3 separate regions of the Homo sapiens genome follow, and all the other regions are linked to region 2. The links are contacts of gene promoters, found by promoter capture Hi-C in blood cells and fetal thymus (Javierre and others, 2016). All regions are on one chromosome and are shown on one strand. Each heading gives the region's core, a stretch centred on a gene start or on the middle of the fragment in contact. The rest is flanking DNA. Distances are from core to core; before and after follow the strand shown.

Region 1 (4,785 bases), core at 1,024-3,523, 620 kb before region 2:
GCCTGCAGTTGCACAGAAGTCAAGAATTGAGGTTTGGGAACCTCTGCCTAGATTTCAGAAGATATATGGCAACACCTGGATGCCAGGCAGAAGTTTACTGTAGGGGGAAGGCTCTCATGGAGAACCTGTGCTAGGGCAGTGTGGAAGGGAAATGTAGGGTTAGAGCCCCCACACAGAGTCCCTACTGGGGCACCGCCTAGTGGAGCTGTGAGAAGAGGGCCACCATCCTCCAGACCCTAGAATGGTAGATTCACCAACAGCTTGCACCATGAGTCTAGAAAAGCTGCAGACACTCAACACCAGCCCACGAAGGCAACCAGGAGGGAGGCTGTACCCTGCAAAGCCACAGGGGCGGAGCTGCCCAAGACCATAGGAACCCACCTCTTGCATCAGCATGAGCTGGATTTGAGACATGAAGTCAAAGGAGATAATTTTGGAGCTTTAGGATTTGACTGCCCCACTGGATTTCAGACTTGCATGGGCCCTATAACTCCTTTGTTTGGCCAATTTCTCCCATTTGGAATGGTTGTCTTTACCCAATGTCTGTACCCCACTGTATCTAGGAAATAACTAACTTGCTTTTGATTTTTTTTCTGTTTTTTGAGACAGAGTTTCGTTCCTGTTGCCCAGGCTGGAGTGCAATGACACGATCTTGGCTCACCGCAACCTCTGCTTCCCGGGTTCAAGCGATTCTCCTGCCTCAGCCTCCCGAGTAGCTGGGATTACAGGCATGCACCACCACACCCGGCTAATTTTGTATTTTTAGTAGAGATGGGGTTTCTCCATGTTGGTCAGGCTGGTCTCAAACTCCCAAGCTCAGGTGATCTGCCCGCTTCAGCCTCCCGAAGTGCTGGGATTACAGGGTGAGCCACTGCGCCCAGCCAGTTGCTTTTGATTTTACAGGCTCATAAGCATAAGCGACTTCCTTTGTCTCAGACAGGACTTTGGACTGTGGACTTTTGAGTTAATGTGAAATGAGTTAAGACTTTGGAGGACTGTTGGGAAGGCATGATTGGTTTTGAAATGTGAGGAGATGAGATTTGGCAGGGGTGGAATGATATAGTTTGGCTCTGTGTCCCCACCCAAATCTCATCTTATAGTCCCATAATTCCCACATGTTGTGGGAGGGACCGGGTGGGAGATAACTGAATCACAGGGGCAGTTTCCCCCATATTGTTCTGTGGTAGTGAATAAGTCTCAGGAGATCTGATGCTTTTATCAGGGGTTTCCGCTTTTGCGTCTTCCTCATTTTCTCTTGCCACTGCCATGCAAGAAGTGCTTTTTGCCTCCTGCCATGATTCTGAGGCCTCCCCAGCCATATGGAACTGTAAGTCCAATTAAACCTCTTTTTCTTCCCAGTCTTGGTTATGTCTTTATCAGCAGCATGAAAACGGACTAATACAGGGGAGGGCCAATTAAGACCACGAGTTTGAGACCAGCCTGTGAAACACAGCAAGACACCATCTCTACAAAAATAAAAAATAAATCAGTCAGGTGTAGTGGTGTAGACCTGTAGTATGGGAGGCTGAGGCAGGAGGATTCCTTGAGCCCAGGAGTTCAAGGTTACAGTCAGCTATGATTGCACCATTGCACTCCAGCCTGGGCAACAGAGCAAGACCCTGTCTCTAAAATCATTCAATCCATCAATCAAGTCCCAAAATATACAGCAAAAATGGACAGAGTTAAAGAATGAGGCCAGGCACAGTGGCTCATGCCTGTAATCCCAGCACTTTGGGAGGCCGAGGTGGGTGGATCACTTGAGGTCAAGCCATTGCACTCCAGCCTGGGTGACAGAGACTCCGTCTCAAAAAACAAACAAACAAACAAACAAACAAAAAACAAAACCCCCAAACCAACTAGAAAGAAAAGAGCAAAGCGACCCCAAAGTAAGAAACCGAGAGTCAGACCTTCCTGGGCGCCCAGGGATCTCACGGTTCCCTCCTGATCTCCCATTTTGTGACTGGCTTTCCCAAGGGTTCCTGCTGAAGCCCCTTCTCCGTGGTCAGCTCTGTGGTCTGCACGGGGCTGAACTGCCCTCCTGAGCCATCCTGACCCTGGGCCTGCACACACTTGGGGACGGAGAGGGAAGAGGTACCCAAGAAGTCCCCAGTGCCGACTGACCCCAAGCTCCGAGGTCCCAGCTGCTCTCTGGGACTCTGTCCCTGGGACCCCTCTGCCAGCGCCCTTCGACGCCCGAGACCCCCACTGTCCCCAAGACCCTCACTATCCCCGCGACCCCGGTGGCGGTTGGGCGCGCCTCGCGGCCTCTCCCAGCTTCTCCTGGGCCGGCGCCATGAGGCCTGGGCCCGCTCTCCTCCTTCTGGGCGTGGGCCTGAGCCTGAGCGTCGGCCGCCTCCCGCTGCCGCCGGTTCCTCGCGGGGCACAAGCCGCCGTCTCCGGGGCGCCCGGTGGCCTCCTCAGGGGCGCCCCGGGCCTCGGGGTGCGCGGCGGCCGCGCCCTCCTCAGTCTGCGGCCCAGCGCGGTGCGGGCGGGCGGCGCTGTCCTGAGCGGCCGCGGCAGCCTCTGCTTCCCCCATGGCGGGACCGGGCGGCGCTGGTACTGCCTCGACTTGCGCGTCCTGCTCAGCGCCCAACGCCTGCCCTGGCCGGCCGCGCCCGCGCTCGCGCTCGTCGACCTGCAGCTCTCCGCGCGCGGCGGCCGCCTCTCCCTGACGTGGTCCGTGCGGCTGCCGCGCTCGCCCGGGCGCCTGGCCTGGGCCTTCCGCCTGCGGCTGCTCGGACCCGGCGCCGCCCGCCCGGCCTCCCCCGCGGCCCGCGTCTCCCCGCGCTCCGCCGCGCCAGGCCCGCGGCCCCAGCAGGGCTTCGTGGCCCGCACCGAGTGCCCCACAGACGGCCCCGCGCGCGTGATGTTGCAGGCCGTCAACTCGTCCAGCCACAGAGCCGTCGAGTCGTCCGTGTCCTGTCAGATAAACGCCTGCGTCATCCAGCGCGTGAGGATCAACACGGACCAGAAGGGCGCCCCCGTGCGCCTGAGCATGCAGGCGGAGGCCACCATCAACGCCTCGGTGCAGCTGGACTGCCCGGCCGCGCGCGCCATCGCCCAGTACTGGCAGGTGTTCTCCGTGCCCGCCGTGGGTCAGGCGCCCGACTGGACGCAGCCCTTGGATCTGCCCCAGCTCGAGATCAGGAACAGCCCCTTGTTCATTCACATCCCCAATAATTCGTTACAGTGGGGAGTGTATGTGTTTAATTTCACGGTGTCCATCACCACAGGGAACCCCAAGATGCCCGAGGTGAAAGACTCGGACGCCGTCTATGTCTGGATCGTCAGGAGTTCCCTGCAGGCGGTGATGCTTGGCGATGCCAACATAACAGCTAATTTCACAGAGCAGCTGATTCTGGACGGGTCCACGTCCTCGGACCCAGATGCGGACAGCCCGTTACAGGGACTCCAGTTCTTTTGGTACTGTACCACAGATCCCAGAAACTACGGTGGGGATCGAATAATCCTGGGGAGCAAGGAAGTCTGTCACCCCGAGCAGGCCAATCTGAAATGGCCCTGGGCCTCGGGCCCTGTACTGACACTTTTGCCAGAAACACTTAAAGGCGACCACGTGTATTTCTTCAGAATGGTGATTCGGAAGGACTCTAGGACAGCGTTTTCTGATAAGAGGGTCCACGTGCTCCAAGGACCAAAAGCCATAGCACACATCACATGTATCGAAAATTGTGAGAGAAACTTCATTGTCTCTGATAGATTTTCTTTGTTCCTAAATTGCACAAATTGTGCAAGCCGTGATTTCTATAAATGGTCAATTTTGTCTTCTTCAGGTGGTGAGATGCTATTTGATTGGATGGGGGAAACTGTAACAGGAAGGAATGGTGCTTATCTGTCTATAAAAGCTTTTGCTTTTCGGCATTTTTTGGAAGCTGAGTTTTCGATTTCTCTGTATCTAGCATGTTGGAGTGGAGTGACCTCGGTCTTCAGGCATTCTTTTATTATTAACCATGGCCCTCAGATCGGAGAATGCAAAATTAATCCAGCTAAAGGAATTGCACTTATTACTAAATTTGTTGTCCAGTGTAGTAATTTTAGGGATAAGCACGTCCCTCTTACATATAAAATAATTGTTTCTGATTTGCACAGTGTTGGTGAAATCAGTTCAGTAAAAGAGAACACCCTGGGGACCATCCTGTACTTGGGGCCTCAGTCCACAGTACCCCCTTCCTTTCTCCCTGTTGGTATGTTGGCTAGTCAATATGGCTTGAAGATATATGCCCAGGTCTATGATTCTCTAGGAGCTTTTTCTCAGGTGACTTTGCATGCCACCGCACAGGCTCCCACTGACAAAAATTCATCAAAGACAGTGTTGAATCAGTTACTCAGTTTCACCGTGGGACCAAGTTCATTGCTGTCTACTTTGATTCAAAAGAAGGATTTTTTACCTGCAGGTTACTTACTGTATATAGTAGCTTCCGTTTTGAATAACATGAAAACTGAATTACCTCTCCGAGATGACAGAGTCAATCTCCGAAAACACCTCATCGATCAGTCTTTCCTTCTTCCTGTAAGCACTTTGGTAGAAATTGGCCAGGTAGTCATGACTATTACCAAATTAACCCAGAAACCCTCTGAATTCACTTGGGATGCTCAGAAACGTGCCACCATGAGGGTATGGCAAGCAAATCAAGCCCTACAAGAGTATCAGCAAAAAGATAAACGCTTTCGATCTGAACAAATAGAAATCGTGAGTACTGGAATACTAATGAGTTTGTCTAATATTCTTAAAATGACTTCTCCTCACCAAGTAGTTAAAGATCCTTT
Region 2 (4,567 bases), core at 539-3,038:
CAGGCCGGAGTGCAGTGGTGCAATCTCAGCTCACTGCAACCTGTGCCTCCCAGGTTCAGGCAATTCTCCTGTCTCGGCCTCCCGAGCAGCTGGGATTACGGGCATGCGCCACCACCCCCGGCTAATTTTTGTATTTTTAGTAGAGTGGGGGTTTCACCATGTTGGCCAGGCTGGTCTCGAACTCCTGGGCTCAAGTGATCTGCCCACCTCGGCCTCCCAAAGCGCTGGGATTACAGGCTTGAGCCATCGCAACCGGCCTCTGCTTGAGAGTTCTGAGTCTTCTCAAGGTTCTGGTCCCTTCTGTAGATACTCTTCATGCATTCATGTTTCTATCGCCACGGGGTACCAACTCCAGGCCAGCTCCCACCAGCCTGGACATCGTAAGTTCTAGACACCAGGCGTCTCTCAGTGGAGCCTAACAATTACATCAGCCTTCTTAGCAATGCTTTGCTCATATGATCAGTATATCTTTTTTTTTTTTTTCCGAGATGGAGTCTCACTCTGTCACCCAGGCTAGAGTGCAGTGGCGGGATCTCAGCTCACTGCAACCTTTGCTTCCCAGGTTCAAGTGATTCTCCTGCCTCAGCCTCCCGAGTAGCTAGGATTACAGGCGCATCCCTCCATGCCTGGCTAATTTTTTGTATTTTTAGTAGAGACAAGGTTTCACCATGCTGGCCAGGCTGGTCTCAAACTCCTGACCTCGTGATCTGCCCCCTCCTCGGCCTCCCAAAGTGCTGGGATTACAGGCGTGAGCCACCGCGCCCGGCCGATCTGTATGTCTTTAATCAGTGTTACGGGCCAGGTGCGGTGGCTCATGCCTGGAATCCTAACATTTTAGGAGGCCAAGGTGGGCAGATTGCTTGAGCCCAGGAGTTCAAGAGCAGCTTGCACAACATGGTGAAACCCCATCTCTATGAAAAATTAGCTGGGCATGGTGATGTACACCTGTAGTCCCAGCTACTTGGGCGGCTAAGGTGGGAGGATCGCTTGAGCCTGGGAGGTCAAGGTCGCAGTGAGTCATGATAGCGCCACTGCACTCCAGCCTGGGCGACAGAGCGAGACCTGTCTCAAAAAAAAAAAAAAAAAAAAAAAAAAAAATCAGTGTTTTGAACAGAGAACTTAGAGGCTTAAATATGCATGTGATTAAATAAAAGACATATATTACCTAGAAAAAACAGGTATTATTCTCACACAGAAAAACGTTGGGTAAAATAAACATTCCTATTGGATGGATTCAATTTTAAATGATTCCTCTTATACAAATTTTGTTTCAACCATTCCTCTTAACAAAGAAATGGCGAAGCCCTCCTAAAGCCCTCCAGAACAGACTGAACAAAGGAAAAAAGATGCTTGTCAACTCAAATATGAAAGGCCTGCTCCAAGCTCCCCTAATTATATCTTGGAAGGGAAGCTTTGTCCTATTGACATTCGGGATCATTTTTCACAAGCTCAGGTTACTCCCTTGAAGATTTTTAGGAAGTTTCATGATATGGAGACATTGTTGAAAAATTGGCTGCTTGACTTCTGCCAGCAATCAGATACAGAGATCAAATCTGTTTCTGCCCACTTAGCTTAGAGCATTTCTGGTTATCTTGGGCAAAATGAGTTTGCAACTTTTAACTCAGACTTCTAAGAAGTCAGACGGTTTCACCCACTTTTTGTGTGTGTGGTTTTTTTTTTTACAAAGGATCTCTGAGGAAACTTGGCTGAAGGTGTGGGTTGATCTCTAATATCTGACATATTCTGCATTTGTAAATACCAGAGTACTTAAGAAGCAACAAAAATGGTTTTTATTTTATAAAGTGGAAGAAAAGATCCGAGGAAATACAACTCCTTTCATCAGACCCTTAGATCTTTCCTTTAAAACATAAAATTCTAAAGTAAATTGTGGGTTACTCTTGCCCTGTCCTGAATTCTAAGAGTTTGGCTGCTTAAAATATCATTAAAACATAATGAAATAAAGCTGACGTGGCCATGCTGCAGATTGATTGATGCATATCTGTTTATATGCTAATGAAAACTTTTGAGGAGCATATTTTTATATGGGGTCAAGATACTGAGCAGACCTCCTGTTTCTGGGCTGGGTCTTCATTCCTGGGAAAAGGAGTGTCTAGCAAATAGAAATATATTATAAATCACATTTTTAGCGAGAATGACAAAGCTTAGCAACCCTTGCCTTAGGGAACCTGTCCAATTTGTCAGTTAAAATTCAGCCTTCTGATATAAAACGAGCCCATTCATGTTGTGTGCGGGCTAATTCCTCGTGGAAAGAATCTGTTTGAGAGCTGTCAGCAGTGCAGAGAATGGGAGTAATACCAGGTAGAATGTGGGATCTCTGTGCAGGAGGCTTTGTGTCACTTCCTCAGTTTACCGCCTGTCCCTAAATCACTCACCCATGCAGGACCTTTCTCAGACCCTACATGGGCACGTGGGTGAGCCTCTGAAAATGCAGAGCTCCCTTCTAGGGGAGTTTTTGGTACTCAAGATTAGAACACAAGTCAGAATCTGTTCCCTTTATGAACAGATGGGAAGTATCTCATCTGAGTCTGTAAACCAAGGTAAAAGCGTTTCATTGAAAGGAGAGGGTGGCCAGGCGCGGTGGCTCATGCCTGTAATCCCAGCACTTTGGGAGACGGAGGCATGTGGATCACATGAGGCCAGGAGTTCGAGACCAGCCTGGCCAACAAGACGAAATCCCGTCTCTACTAAAAATACAAAAATTAGCTGGGTGTGGTGGTGCGCACCTGTGGTCCCAGCTCCTCAGGAGGCTGAGGCAAGAGAATCACTTGAACCTGGAGGCAGAGGTTGCAGTGAGCTGAGATCGCGCCAAAGGAAAGGGTCAAGGCAGATCCATTTCCCTCAACATTTGGGCACAGACAGGCCTTTCTGGTATAGGGGGAAGAGGCGGATTTTGATTTCGAGCCCCGTAATTTGTTGATTCTGAGAGTGTGCCCATAGACAGGTTCACTGAAGGCTGCGTGGACAGCAAATGCAACGGGCTTTATGTTGAATGGTGGCACACTTTGGGGAGCAGAGGATGCACTGTAGGCTCACACCCTACATCCGTGTGTTCCCTCTGTGTCCCAAGCCCAGGGGGATGCCCAGCCTCATCCTGCCCTGTCTTCCCAGGGCCAGCGGCAGTCAGCCCATGTGGCTGCTGCACGAACCCCGCACTGACGCTGGACCAAGGCCTTGAGTGCCGTGCACGGACCACCTGCTTCGGACCCCACACCTGCAGTGCTGGGGAAAATTACACCTTTTGGGGCCCCACGCCAGACCTCCCAGTCAGGATCTCTGGGGTCTGTGCCTGGGGACTGCACTGAACCTTCATCTCGGGTGATTTGAGAGCCCCATGAGAGTCCACCTGTGCCTTCCACACCTTTCCTCTGGGGGTGACCGTCCCACAGGGACCAGCCCCAGCCCTGCTCTCCGGGCCCCTACCACCACTGCCTCTTCAAACGCCGGCCCATGAACCCCACAGGCACCCCGTAAGGCCGGCAGCATCGTTTCCAGATGGGCCCAGAAGCTTGAGCCGTGGCAAAGCTCATGGGATTTGGGAGCTGGGATTCTGGGCTACTGTGCCTTGCACTCGCCCAAACCCAGCAGAGACTGTGGACTGGAGCAAGAGCGCTGTGAACCCAGCCTGGCTGCTCCCTGGAGAGGAGGGCGCGGGACTGGACTGAGCCCCACAAGCCTGAGGGAGGAGCACGGGCCTCAGGGGCTCCTGCTCTGGGCTACCACGGCTTCTTCCTGGCTGTGTTTCTTCTGGTCCATCGGGCAACCTCTCTGAATTCAACTGTCCAATCAACAAAACGTGGGTAAGGGAGCACCCCTTTGCCTCTTCCAGGGTGGAAGGGGAGGGCGGGGGTGACCCTCTCTCGGCTTCCTCCCCTGTCCACCTTCCCATTTTAGACCTGGGATGGGAGACGTGTAGACTGTGTTCCAGGATTCAGTCCCAGGTTCTTGGCAGATGTGAATGCTTGGCTGCCCTTCAGGCTGAGTGTAGCTGCCACAAAGACAAAGGGCCCAGCTGACCCTAGGGCTACTGTGTGCCCTCATTCTGAGGCCTGCGAGTTGCCAGCCCTATCCCTTCAAAGGGGTAGTTAGGTGCGTGTATCTCACACCTGGACGCATCACAATGAGGTGGGAAAGTCAAGCACCTCCACAGCCCTTCCCTCTGGGACCCAGGGGAGTCTTCCCAGCCCCTAGCACTCCCCACTCTCCACCAAGGCCAACCAGCACCTGAGGGCAGGCCCCTCCCTGCCCCCAGCACAACTTCCTGACCAGGGACCACAGGCCTAGGGTCTGTGTCACTGATCAACTGTGAAGGCTGAGACATAGCCACCCCCACCCATTCTGAAAAGGAAAAGCCCTCAGAGCTTCCCAGACTGGCACCTGCTCCTAGGGTGTGAGGAGGGTAGCACAGGGTCTGCCCTCAGAGACCTCAGGCTCAGAGAATCAAGCTTCTCCCTCCCCTCCTGGGACCTACAGGGTCTGAGATCGTCCACCAGGAGGAGGAGAAAGGAGTAGAGACCCCCTTCCTCGCTGCTGTCCTGGGACAGCCGGC
Region 3 (4,454 bases), core at 198-2,697, 690 kb before region 2:
ATGACTGCTGAAGAAGGCTTCATATAGTACCCAAAACAACAGAAATTTGATGACAAAGCTTTGTCAAAACTACACCACCACACGCGAAAGACCACCCCTATCCCAGATCAACCAGACTAATGTCTACCTAACAGTCTAAAGCCCCTGGTATAGCATCTTCCATAATCAGGGCTAAACGTGCTCCAGGCTCCTCTCCTTCCATCTCCATCTGGCCAGAACCAGCCCACACTTGCAGGCCTCTGTGATTCTGCTTGCACTGCTGACTGTGCCGGGAGGGCCGCCTCCACCTCCAAGTCTCTGCTTAGTGACATCCTACTCTTCTTTCGACTCAGCTGAGCACCTCCATCTCTAGGATGCTTTCCTCCACTCTCCCTTCCTCACAACTATTTCTGCTTATGGTCCGCCTACCCTTCTCTTTGGCACTTACTGTACCTACCATAATAGCTATGGTTATTAACAATATAAACTAATAGCCACTACTGTTTTCTGCGTACCTCGTATGTGCTGAGCACGTACTCATCAGTATGTACTATGTCATCTAATCCCTCCAGTCACCCCGTGAGGCAGGTGTTAGCCGAATTTTACAGGGGACGGCTTAATTCACTTGCCCAAGGTCAGGAGCCAAAGATGGCGCAAAGCAGAGCTCCACAAACGTGACTCTGTGAATGAGGCCTCCCGCGGGGAGCCACACAGGTGAAGTTAAACAAGTGCTCATTTCAGCGCCGGGCCCGAGGAATGCTAAGCACCCGTGGGGCTCCGTTTAGATGCCGGAAGAAATGCAAATGCTCCTGGAGAAAACTTTGTCCTCCAGCGAGCGGAGAACACAGGAGACGCTGAACAAGCAGACCCGCCGCGCGGCAGTTGTCCAGTCTGCTGAGTGGGGAGGACAAGGACCTCCCACCGGGCGGCCACAGCGTGTGCAGAGGTCAGGCCCCCGGCCCGGCGATCCCAGCTCCCCTCACCAGTGTCCACGGTCTCACAGGTGAATGTGGACGCCGCAGATCCGTGAGAAACCCTTCCCTCCCCACCCCACCCCGGCCCGCCGGCTTCTCACTGTGGGTGGGCGCGCGTGGGTGGAGAGGGGCGCGGAACTGCTCCCAGGTAGTCGGAGCTGCAGTCGCGCACACCTCCGACTACACAGGTGGAGGGCGAGGAGCCTCCGAACCAAAGTCAGAGGACGGGGTATCCTCCTGCCGACCCGCGCGCAACCAGCGGCCCAGGGAGGGAGGAGACGTGCACAACGCCACGACGGACGGGGACAGGTTTCCGGGGACACATTCGCTCGGCGGGGGGCGGGAGCCTCGGACGCCTCACCTCTCCGCCTCAGCAGCAGCGCGGCCACGGCGCTGTCCACGCCGCCGGACAGGGCGCACACGACGTGCCGCAAGGCCTGCATCCGCCAGTCGCCCAACTTCGCCAGCTGCAGCTACCGCCGCTTCCGCGCCTTGCCGGAAGTCCCGCCCCGGCCGTAGGGTCCGCGCTAGTGGCCCGGCCGGAAGCTGCGGCAGCTTACCCGCGTTCCGTCCGGCCTTCCCCTGTCCCGCGGCGGGTTCCCCTGTCTCCGGCCTGCGCTCACCCCTGAGGCTCCACCGACCCGCGGGGCGCCGAGACTCTGTCGGGCCGCGAGGGGCTGGCTTTTTTTTTGAGCCGCCGCCTTGCCCTCCCCACCCGCGCCCCGGCCTCACTGCTCTTCTTCTGCGCTGTAAACCAAAAATAAAATTCTAAGCCCCCCAGCCAGCCATTGGAGGCCTCCTCTCGGCCAAGGGCGTCCTAGAGGGAACCTGAACCGCGAGTTCGGGCTCTGATGGGAAAGGCCGGGTGGGACCCGCCTCACTAGACCCTCCTCCTCCCTTTGGAATTCGGACCAGCATTAACGTCAAAACAGACTTAAGACTGTCTAGGCGGACTCTCCGTAGCAATAGGATACCGACATGACAGATGGCAGGCCCTGAAAGATATCGAAGTATTTTACAGTATTTTAATTTAATTTAATTTTTAATTAATTAAATTTTTTTGAGATGGAGTTTTGCTCTGTCGCAGGCTGGAGTGTAGTGGGCGCGACCTCGGCTCACTGCAACCTTCACCTCCAAGATTCAAGCGATTCTCCTGCCTCAGCCTCCCTAGTAGCTGCGATTACAGGCGCCCGCCACCAAGCCCAGCTAATTTTTGTATTTTTAGTAGAGACGGGGTTTCACCGTATTTGCCAGGCTGGTCTCTCACTCCTGACCTCAAGGGATCCGCCCACCTCAGCCTCCCAAAGTGGCGGGATTACAGGTGTGAGTCACTGCCCCCGGCCCAGAAAATCTTTGAATCCACCTATGACCTGGAAGCCCCACCCCACCTTCGAGTTGTCCCACCTTTCCGGAACCAATGTTACATCTTACATGTATTGATTTATGGCTTATGTCTCCCTAAAACGTACGAAACCAAAAGCTGTAGCACCACCAGTTTGAGCACGTGTTCTCAGGATCTCCTGGGACTATGACATGAATAAATATCTTCAAATCTTTTACAGTTTGACTCCAAGCATACTCAGCACTCAATCCTTAATGTCTGTGAGGTGTGTTGGACAGGGGTTTTGTGTTCTGTCCACTCCTACTCCATGCCCAGAAAAGCCCCTGGCCCAGGGCAGGTGCTTCATAACCTCGCTGAATAAAGGAAGGAGGAGAGAATGGAGGTCATCCCCCAGGGGTGATATTCAAGCTGAGTTCTTCTCTACGAGTTAGCATCTAGACAAGGTCTACCTAAAGCACAGGGAGACTCTGAACGAAAAAGATGTTCATTTGTGAATAGGGCATTGCAATGGGAATATGCATGCCACAATAAGCTATGTGGGTATTCAGGGAAGTAAAGGAAGACAAAGGTTTTTATTTTATTTATTTATTTTTTTGAGACAGTCTCACTTGGTCACTAGGCTGGAGTGCAGTGGCGTGATCTTAGCTCACTGCAACCTCCGCCTCCCGGGTTTAAGCGATTCTCCTGCCTCAGCCTCCGGAGTAGCTGGGATTACAGGCACATGCCACCACACCCAGCTAATTTTTGTATTTTTAGTAGAGACGGCATTTCACCATGTTGGCCAGGATGGTCTTGATCTCCTGACCTTGTGATCCGCCCGCCTCGGCCTCCCAAAGTGCTGGGATTACACGCGTGAGCCACAGTGCCCGGCCTAGGAAGACAAAGGTTTTTAAAGGGAAAATGAGGATCACATCATTGTTTTGAGATAATTCTTTGGCTACAAAGATCAATAACAAGGGTGACAGCACTCCAGGGTTGGACAAGCAGTTGCTGGGCAGATGTCCTTGCAACAGAAGTTTTTTGTTTTTTTTTTTTTTTTGAGGAAGGTTACGATAGCCTTTGTGTAAAGTTGTGGTTTTTGCAGTCTTTTGTGATAGTTGTTATTATTAGGCACATGTGCATGAGAACCCTCCCTTGTGGTATGAACCCAAAGTACCTGAGACAGGTTTCAATTTAGAAAGTTTATTTTGCCAAGGTTAAGGACATGCCAGTGACACAGCCTCAGGATGATGTCCTGAGGATATGTGCCCAAGGTGGTCGAGGCACAGCTTGCTTTGATACATATTAGGGAGACACAGGACATCAATTAATACGTGTAAGATGTACACTGGTTCTGTCTGGAAAGGCGCAACAACTGGGGGTGGTGGGCAGCTCGCAGGTCATAGGTAGATAAGAGATAAACTGTTGCATTCCTTTGGGTCTTTGATCAGCCTTTCACTGAATACACAATCTCCATGTGAGAGGCAGGTAGAGGAACAGTCACTGATGCCTTAGTCTGGCTCAGTGAATCTGCATTTTCACATAAACAATAGGGCAGAGGAAGCAATCAGACATGCATTTGTCTCAGGTGAGCAGAGGACTGATGGTGAGTTGTCCATTGTCTGGCATCTGTGAAGATAAGCTATCAATTTACATTGCCAGGGTGAAATTCAACAGAACTATTTTAGGGTAAAGATCTCGAGGTCCACGAGGAATTTCCAAGAAGAAAAGCAGGAACTACCAACAGGAGAGCCCTGGGGACTGGTGCCAGGAGGAGCTGCAAGACAGGAGGGAGGTCACAGGGCCTGTGGGGAAAAGGATGACCACTTTTTCAGAATAAAGGATCAGGAAAATACCCAACAGGAGGGCAATTTCATCTTGCATTTCCCGGAAGAGATAAGGAAATCCAGTATCTGGGCAGCTGAGTTTGTGCAGATTTAGAGGTACACGTTTAGGCTGTGTCTAAACTTGAGTCTGGGTCTGGGGGCAGGCCCTCCTTGGGTGTGGCAGGCTGATCTAAGGTTATGGCAGGTTAAGTCCCAGTTGCAGCCAACCCGCAAAATGGCTGAGATCCATGCTCACATATTTTCTGCTACTTTTTGGTTAACTATATGGTATTTTAGGTACTCCGTAGCTCCAAGAGGCCCCTGTGTATCACCCAGGTCCACTACAGGCTAGTT

Evidence for each region. Contacts are between HindIII fragments. The CHiCAGO score rates a contact against its expected background, and 5 or more counts as called.
Region 1: a contact is called between the fragment with the promoter of PKDREJ here and a fragment that was not itself captured in region 2, in 1 of 17 cell types (erythroblasts). The highest score is 5.5, in erythroblasts.
Region 3: the fragment with the promoter of TRMU here is called in contact with a fragment that was not itself captured in region 2 in 1 of 17 cell types (erythroblasts); the score reaches 5.0 in erythroblasts.

What each region holds. Positions count from the first base shown.
Region 1 is chr22:46,260,831-46,265,615 of GRCh38, reverse strand. It overlaps PKDREJ (polycystin family receptor for egg jelly), which reads left to right and starts at 2,273. Exons shown (of 1, transcript NM_006071.2): 1 at 2,273-4,785. The coding sequence starts at 2,294. The HindIII fragment of the contact is 7,014 bases long and covers 1-3,865 here.
Region 2 is chr22:45,640,176-45,644,742 of GRCh38, reverse strand. All of the region lies in intron 1 of LOC105373069 (a long non-coding RNA gene), which reads right to left. It overlaps LOC105373067 (a long non-coding RNA gene), which reads left to right and starts at 4,314. Exons shown (of 3, transcript XR_938308.3): 1 at 4,314-4,567. The HindIII fragment of the contact is 750 bases long and covers 1,414-2,163 here.
Region 3 is chr22:46,332,707-46,337,160 of GRCh38, reverse strand. TRMU (tRNA mitochondrial 2-thiouridylase) reads right to left here and starts at 1,447. Exons shown (of 11, transcript NM_018006.5): 1 at 1,315-1,447. The coding sequence starts at 1,396. RefSeq lists a silencer at 1,000-1,049 and enhancers at 858-1,357, 1,190-1,409. The HindIII fragment of the contact is 6,278 bases long and covers 61-4,454 here.